Regions from separate parts of the Homo sapiens genome. Here region 2 is linked to region 1. The links are contacts of gene promoters, found by promoter capture Hi-C in blood cells and fetal thymus (Javierre and others, 2016). All regions are on one chromosome and are shown on one strand. The core of a region is centred on a gene start or on the middle of the fragment in contact, and the rest is flanking DNA. Distances in the headings are between cores, read along the strand shown.

Region 1 (4,286 bases), core at 792-3,291:
TCATGCCTGTAATCCCAGCACTTTGGGAGGCTGAGGCAGACAGATCAGGAGGTCAGGAGATTGAGACCATCCTGGCTAACAGGTGAAACCCCGTCTCTACTAAAAATACAAAAAAATTAGCCAGGCGTGGTGGCACGTGCCTGTAGTCCCAGCTACTCGGGAGGCTGAGGCAGGAGAATGGCATGAACCTGGGAGGTGGAGCTTGCAGTGAGCTGAGATTGCGCCACTGCACTCCAGCCTGGGTGACAGAGCAAGACTCCGTCTCAAAAAAAAGTTTCAGTTAGTATTTTTTGCTGATATCATAGTTGCGTTTGTTTAATTTCCTCAAATAAAATTCCCAGCTTATATGATGCTCTTTGTCACTGGCAACTTTGGTCAGACAATTAAATGAAGCAATTGAAGGGCACAACAGGATTTTGGAAGGGATGGTACAGGATTGGGAGATAAACTAGAGATAGGAGTTTATAAAATATTTTCAAAGACAGATTGAAGAATAGGAATAAGAGTATGATATTGTGAAATATATATTTGATCTTCCTAGCATAGAACTTCTAAAATCCTTAGAAACTACAAAGTAACAGTAAAAACTCATTTTGTATGCTAATGAGTTGACAGCTGGCAACCCCTATAGAGTTTCAGGATGGGGACTGGTTATGGAAAGACCAAGACATGACTAGAAGGTTGGGACATTCAACCCCACCCCCAACCCTAAGGAGGGGACGGGATTTTAATCAACCATGCCTATGTAATGAAGCCTCTGTAAAACTCCCAAAAGACAGGGTTTAGAGAGCTTCCACCCAGCTGAACATGTGGAGGTTACTGGAAGGTGCAACACCCTTTTTTCTGTACTTTGCCCTACGCATCTCTTCATCTATATCATTTGTAATATCCTTTATAATAAACTAGTAAACATAAGTGTTTCCTGAGTTCCGTGAGCCACTCTAGCAAAATATCGAACCGCAAAGAGGGGGTGGTGAAAATCCCAATTTGAAGGTGGTGGAGTCAGATGTTCCAGAGGCTAGACTTTAGTGGGAAGTGGGAAGGGGGAGGCAGGCTTGGGGACTGAGCCCTCAGCGAATGGTGTCTGACCCATCTCCAAGTAGACGGCGTCGGAATTAAACTGGAGGACACCCAGCTGGTGCCCGCTGCAGAACTCACTGAACTCATTGCTTGCTTGAGATGTGTGGGAAACTCCCCTATATTTGGTCAGAAAAGTCTTCTGTTATGATTAGTTGTCGTTGAGATAATAGAAAAAAATGCACCTTGCGTTTTTTCCACTGATTCAGAGGGCATAACTGAAAGAATGAAGAACTGAAAGAATGATCTTAATACTCTGCTTCGCTTTTCTTGATAATACGCATTACTTCCCAATATGCATCAGTGTCCTTTATTATTAATTTTTTCCTATTGAATTCCTCCCGCATTAGAATGCTGCTCCATGAGGTGGGGATTTTGTCTGCTTGTTCACTGCTGTGTGCCCAGGGCCCACGACAGTGCCCGATACAGCAGGCGCTCAATAAGTGGCGAATGAAAGACAGGGCAAGGCGGAGAGAGAAGAAACAGAAAGGGAAAGAGAAAGCCCGGGCCGCCAGAGCGCTTAATCACACGTACATCCTACCGGGCCCCTCTCCAGCTGGCTCAGGCTCCACACTGGTCCTCCAGCTCCCTTTTCTCAGCGATGGACTCACAGCCCCACCCGGAGCGCTGGAGCGCGGACGCGGTCACTGCGCGTGCGCCTCACCGCGCTGGCACCCCGGCCTGGCAGCCTTTGGGGACCTGAACCAGCTGCGCCTGCGCAGGTGGAACGGGTGGAACGGGTGGGGGAGCGGACAGTCGAACGGCCTGAGAGGGCTCAGCTGGTCCGGGTGGGATTCTGAAGGCCAGCGGAGGTGGGCTTACTAGGGAAAGGGGCGCAGCAGTAACTACCCGCAACTGAGCGGCGGGATCTGCGGCCGCCCGGGGCCCTCGGCCAACATCCCAGCATCCTCTGCGCCGCGCCGGCCCCGGACTCCATTTCCCAGCGGCCCCTGCGGCCTGCCCTAGGGCTGCGGCGCCTTTGTGAGCGCGGCCGCCGGCCAGGATCGAGCCCTGGCCCGGGCCCTGGCCCAGCCCCGGCCTCCAAGGACCGCGCCGAAGGAGGTGCCCACTGGAGGGAGGAGGCGGTGAGGAGCGCGGGATGGAGCTGACGCCGGGAGCGGCCATGCCACCATGTGTGGGACCGTGTGTGACAGTGTGTGAGAATGTGTGAGACATTAAGGAACCGTGTGTGACAATGTGTTTGACAGTGTGGAATCGTGTGTGAGACCATGTGTGACTGTGTGAGAATTTGAGACCGTGTGTGACAGTGTGAGAATGTGAGGCCGTGTGTGAATATGTGTGTCAGTGTGAGACCATGTGGGACAAATGTGGGACTATGTGTGACAGTATGAGACTGGGTGTGAGAATGTGTGCGACAGTATGAGACCGTTGCCCCGGTGTATGCGGGAGCCTTTGACAGTATATGGGACCGTGTGGGACTGTGTGACACTGTATGTGCTTAAGACCACGTCACCATGTGTGAGACTGGGAATGTGTGACAGTGTTAAACTGTCATTATGTGTAGACCACGTGTGAACAGTGTGTAAGACCATGTCACTGTGTGTGTGACCTGTGTGTGTGGGATAATGTAAGACTGTGTGACAGTGTGTGTGACTTTGTGAACAGAGCTTGACCGTGTGTGTAGGATTAGATGAGACTGTGACAGTATGTGAGACCATGTCACCGTGTGTGAGGCTATGTGTGGTTGTGTACGGTGTGTGGCTGTTGATATGGGACCACATGAAACTGCGACAGAATTTGTGTGACAGTGTGTGAGACTGTGTCACTGTATGTGAAACTGTATGTGAACAGAGTTTTTGTTGTTGGACTAAGATTGTATGTGACAGTGTTTGAGATTGTGCATGACAGTGTGTGTGATTATGTGAGACTGAGGGAGATGGTGTGACTTAGCACTGTATGTCATCCCGACAGTGAGTGTGACAGTGTGACTGAGAATGGCCTTATATGACCCATTGTGAGAGCAGGGCGGGCTACAATGTGGGGGCATGTCCATAGGTTGCCAGGGGAGGTGCCAGAATGAGAAACTATGTGGTTTGTTGTCTGTGATTTGTGTGGGCAGGAAGCTGTGTGGGTGCTTGGAGATGCTGGTGTGCTCTGGGGTTTGGGAGACTGCTGTTGTGGTGGAGAGACAGAAAGATTGAGATAAAGGGGAAAAGATGGAGAAAGGGAGGGACGAGAGCTGAAAAGGGAGAGACAGACAGGAGCCTCAGCCTTAAGCCTGAAAAGCTGACCACGCTGGCTGCTTGTCCTCTGGCACAGTAGTTTTTCCATCCCTCTCAGTCTCTGGGGGCACGTGAGGAATTTAAAAGGAAAAAGGAATGGGAGACCTACCATGTGCTGGTTATGAAAATAAATGACAGAAAGATGAAAATTAAGCACTGTGCTCAATGCTTTATGTAGATCATTTCAGAATCCTCCCAACAATTGATAGGGAATAGTTACCATTTCACTGATAGAGAAACAGGTTTGCAGTGGTTACCTAACTTGCCAGAGGTTGTATAGGTAGCATGTGGTGGTTTGGCTGTTTGAGACCAGGTGTTCTGATCCTTAAGCCTAGTAGTTCTTACCACTGAGTTATGCCACTTCATAGGTAATGGCTTTATTCTTCAAGGCAGTGAGGTCTGCTGGACAAGAATTCACCATAGGGGGTTTGGATGACTGTTCAAGCATAGCCTGCTCCTCCCTCCCTCTCTCCTTCTTTCTGTCTGAGGAGATTGCCCAGAAAAGTCAAGAGATTAGTTTTCAGTTGTGGGTTGTCATAAGCCAGGACCAGAAGTAGGCCGTCTTGACTCTTTGATCGAGTGTCCACCACACTACATGGACCCTCTGATACTCACTCTGTGTATAGAGATGCTTTCTCTGAGAAATTTCACTTTGTAGCTTTATCTGTCATCCTTGCAGAAAGGGTGGGAACATATTTCCTTTCAACATCATGATCGGGTGGAAAGAATTAAAAGTTAGAACTGGTTTCCAGTTTGGCTTAATTATTACCATGATGCCTTGAATAATTACTCCGATGAAGAGCCTTCATGTGTGAAAGAGGGGGAAATCCTTGCTTGGTAATACCATTCTGTAATTGCTGTTTTTGTTTTAAATTATAAATGGGGAGGTAACTTAAACACAGAACAGGTATGTTGTATTCTTTTTTTTTTTTTTTTTTTTGAGACAGAGTCTCGCTCTGTGGCCCA
Region 2 (4,286 bases), core at 1,739-4,238, 2.9 Mb before region 1:
AAGGCAGAAGAAGGTGGGATACCTTTGCTTGCTGAGTCTTCTGGCTTTCATCTTTCTCCCGTGCTGGATGCTTCCTTCTGCTTCTCCTGCCCTTGGACATCAGATTCCAGGTTCTTTGGTCTTTGGACTCTTAGACTTACACTGGTGGTTTGCCGGGGGCCCTGTGGCCTCTGGCCACAGGCTGACGACTGCACAGTTGGCTTCCTTGCTTCTGAGGCTTTTGGACTTGAACTGAGCCACTACTGGCTTCTTTTTTCCTCAGCTTGCAGATGGCCTATCATGGGACTGGGCCTTGTGATCGTCTAAGCCAATTCTCCCTAATAAACTTCCTTTCCTATAGACATATATCCTATTAGTTCTGTCTCTCTGGAGAACCCTGACTAATACAAGGCAATTCTCTTTGGTACTGCCCCTTCACTTGGTAGTCAGAGCCATAGACACGCAGGCTCAAGCCACTTCACAAGTCAGTCAATATTGCAAACCATACATAGTAGTGTACTTAATCAATATATATAAATGTTATAGATTAAACATTTCACAATAAACAAAGTAATGTTTAACATCAAGAGAAAAGAGATAGGAGAAAAGGGTTAACAAGTCAGTCCAAGGAGAGTAACAAAACCCTTGGTCAGGGCTGGGCAGGCCCATTGGTCTTGCAAGAAGTCTTTGAGGCTTCAGCAGCAGATGCCAAGTGCTCATCACAAATGACAGCAGGACGGTTGCAGTTAAGATGGTTATTTCAAGCCACTGAAGCCTTGCTCCTTTTATGGCCACAGAGTCCTCTGGGGAGGACAGATGGTGGAAGAATGTGCTTGTTTATATCCTTATCTGGTTGGATGCAGTCTTTATTATTTATTTATTAAGCAAAACATCTTGTCCCTGTTGGCAAAGTGCCCTGTGGAATGCAAGATGGAGTCTTTTTCTAAGATGGAGTTACTTATGTCAAGGGTACTCTATACAGTAGTCTTACCCACACGTTCATAGAAACATACAATCTCATCCATGTCATAATGAAGGCCAAAAACCTCACAGGCGCCCTCCCTTACCTGAGCTCCAGGAGGCTCCCTGATGAGTCCACACAATCACAAATCCAGTCACACCCACCAATGATTCTCTCCCAACAACAGCATATATTTTTTAGGGCAAAGCATCTCACACCCCAGTGTTTGTCTAAATTGCACCATTTCGGAAGCCCCCTGCTCTTTTGCAGACCTTGGTCAAAGTGAAACATTTCACAGGGGTTCAGGCAGTGAGAAATATCCTGCCTAACCACCTGACCACAAGGCGAACAAAGACCCAATTAAAGAAACATTCTCATCATGTCCTACTGGGCAAAGGCCCAACTACAAAAACCATCCCTATCATATCTTTCTTGGCAAAGGTCCAAGGAACATCCTGATGAGATCCCACCGGAAAAAGGGCCAAACCGCCTGATCATAAGAACATCTTGTCAATATCCTGCCGGGCAGCAAGCCATACAGCCCAGGCCTCTCCCGCCCATACCAAGGTAACACTCACAGAGACATCTGAAGAGCCAGGCAGTGCTCCCAAGTCTGGGACAGCATCAGAGAACGAAACGCAAAGTCCTGCCCTTACAGAGAGAGCCTTGGCACAGACCCAGTCAGGACCAGGTCACTCCCGTGGAACCTACTCAAGGTCCCTACACACATGCCTGGAGCTCCCCAATCTACTGGGGGGTGGGGGAAAGGGCAGTGCTGAAACGTCCCCAAAATCTCACATGTAAACACCCTACCTAACACTTTCTAGAGGCATTTCCAGCTCGGGGCTGTATTTCCAAGAACGCTCTGGAGGCACAGCTCTTTTCTAAGGAGGGCCATGTTGCATGCTGGGAAATTTTTGAACTTTTCCCAAATCACAGCTTTTAAGCTTTCCGGGCTTATTATTATTATTATTATTATTTTGAGACATTGTTTCACTCTTATCGCCCAGGCTGGAGTGCAGTGGTGTGATCTCGGCTCACTGCAACCTCTGCCTCCTGGGTTCAAGCGATTCTCTTCCCTCAGCCTCCCAAGTAGCTGGGATTACAGGCACACACCACCACGCCTGGCTAATTTTTGCATTTTTAGAGCGATGGGGTTTCACCATGTTGGGCAGGAGGGTCTCGAACTCCTGATCTCAGGTGATATACCCGCCTCGGCCTCCCAAAGTGCTGAGATTACAGGCGTGATTTCTGGTCGTTTCAGACTACATTTCCTTCCCAGAAGGACGCGGGGACACGCCTTCCCTATGGACGGATCCCAAATGCAAGTTGTAAGCAATTATAACTGTAGGCCCCTAGAGCCTGAACCACTTTTCCCAGGAATTTTTTGTGGTGCGCCTTAGGAGCAAGCAAAGTTTCAGGGCAGGAGAAGGCCGACAGGGCTTCCAGCATTTGAAGATTCTGCCAGTCTGAAATACGCTTTCCCAGAAGTCTATGGGGGGTGCAGCTGCTCTAACAGTGGGAGGAGACACCGACGAAAAGCATTCTGACGGCCGCGCTTCCAGCGCTAAGGATTCCCGCGTAGTGAGCATTTCCCAGAGGTCTCTGGGGCATGGCTCCATTAGGGCCGTGTGCAGTTGCCTGCAGGGAAACACTGATGGGCGCCCTTCCAGATACGTCGATTCCCGGGTTATGAGCTACATTTCCCAGAAGCCCTCAAGGCAGGACGCCCTTAGGGTCGCGTAGAGTTGCATGCTGGGAAATCCTGACAGCCGCTTCCAACTCTGTGGATTTCCGGGTTATGGACTACATTTCCCAGAGGCCTCTGGGTCACGGCTCCATTTGCGCCGTGTAGAGTTGCATGCTGGGAAACACTGACGGGCGCCCTTCCAGCTGCGTCGAAGCTTCTCTGGTTTCGCATTACATTTCCCAGAGGGCCTTGGGGCACAGTCCAATGAGGAGCGAGCCGGGTGGCCGGCTGAGGGGCGTGCTTCATGCTCGCGGGATTTTTAAAAATGGTTTCTCCTGGATCTTATCCCAACTGCGCCTGAGACCTTGTTTCACCTCCTGATGTGCTGGGTGTGGTTAGGCCTCGAGCCGGGAGCTATTTGCCTCCCAGGAGGAAGCCAGGGCAGGGTTCCGCGGGGAATGGCGGTGAGGGAGCCACTCGGGACGCGGAGGCCCTAAAATGAAGAAGCTTCGGCCTGAGGCTTCGGGAGCGGCGAGCAGGGAAGTGGGAGTGTGTGTGAGTGTGTGTGTGTGTGTGTGTGTGTGTGTGTGAATAAGCCAGAGGCTGCCTGGTGGGGCCCCGCCGTGGCCCAGTGACTGAGATAATTGTCTTCGTCTGTGGGGTAATGCGAACAAGCCCCGTTCCCCTAAGCCGTGATGCATGCGGGGTTGACGCGGCCGGGCTCTGTCCCCATAAACTGTGACACAGGTGTGTGTAGACGTCTATGAGGGCCATAGCGCCGGGCTGTAAGGGCATCTGTAGGGGTGACGCAGCCGGGCTGTGTCTCTGCACCTCCGTTCTGTGCGAGGTCAATGCTGGTGGGGTCTGCAGAGGTGGCACGGCCAGGACGGGTCTCCGTGTCTCTGAAATGTGCCTTTGCACTTCTGTCAGGTTGACAGGGACAGGCAGTGTCCCTCTGGTGTGAGCGTCTGTGGGTGTGAAAGGGCCAGCGAGTGTGCGGCTGTGACTGGTCGGGATCGGGCCTGGGTGCATGGCCTTTTGAGTGAGCACAGGTGTGTGCGACCATGTCACCTGTCTTTCTAGTGTCTCCGTTGCTTCCTGTGCCTTGGCCTTCCAGCCATGTGGTACCTGCTAGGGAGCAGTGGTCCCAAAGTGACGTGAGAGGCTCTACGCTATTGTGAAAATGACCAAGAAGAAGGCTTCACAAGTCACGAGATGGCAGTTTTGGAGCCAGAAGTGCTCTCCGTGCACACTACCTGGACGACAAGAGGAAGTAACCTCAAGAATAGAATTCCTTTTGGGGAAGAAAGAGGTACCTGACATGGGAGGCGGGGAGGTGGTGAGAGGGGCAGCTCCATGTTTCAGAACCCCAGTTCCTAGAGTTTTCCAGCATTTCTCTGAAAAACTCACATGCCTGTGCCCTCTTATTTCTGATTGATTTTAACTGTGGTCTGGGGACAAGTGTGCCCTATTTTCTTTCTTTGTTTTTTTTTTTTTTGAGACAGAGTCTTGCTCTGTCGCCCAGGGCTGGAGTGCAGTGGTGCGATCTCGGTTCCCAGGTTCAAGCGATTCTCCTGCCTCAGCCTCCCAAGTAGCTGGGACCACAGGCGCACGCCACCATGCCCAGCTAATTTTTGTATTTTTAGTAGAGACGGG

What was found. The method cuts DNA at HindIII sites, captures the fragments that hold promoters and counts their contacts. A CHiCAGO score of 5 or more calls a contact.
Region 2: a fragment that was not itself captured here is called in contact with the fragment with the promoter of ZNF583 in region 1 in 2 of 17 cell types (non-activated CD4 T cells and naive B cells); the score reaches 10.4 in non-activated CD4 T cells.

The regions. Positions count from the first base shown.
Region 1 is chr19:56,402,291-56,406,576 of GRCh38, forward strand. It overlaps ZNF583 (zinc finger protein 583), which reads left to right and starts at 2,042. Exons shown (of 5, transcript NM_152478.3): 1 at 2,042-2,162. RefSeq lists an enhancer at 1,466-1,605 and a silencer at 2,066-2,275. The HindIII fragment of the contact is 8,045 bases long and covers 1-4,286 here.
Region 2 is chr19:53,518,143-53,522,428 of GRCh38, forward strand. It overlaps a transcript of ZNF331 not described here. Among named protein-coding and RNA genes, the nearest start is that of ZNF331, 18 kb to the right of the region's middle. RefSeq lists enhancers at 1,582-2,356, 2,357-3,130, 2,621-2,820, 3,131-3,904. The HindIII fragment of the contact is 293 bases long and covers 2,843-3,135 here.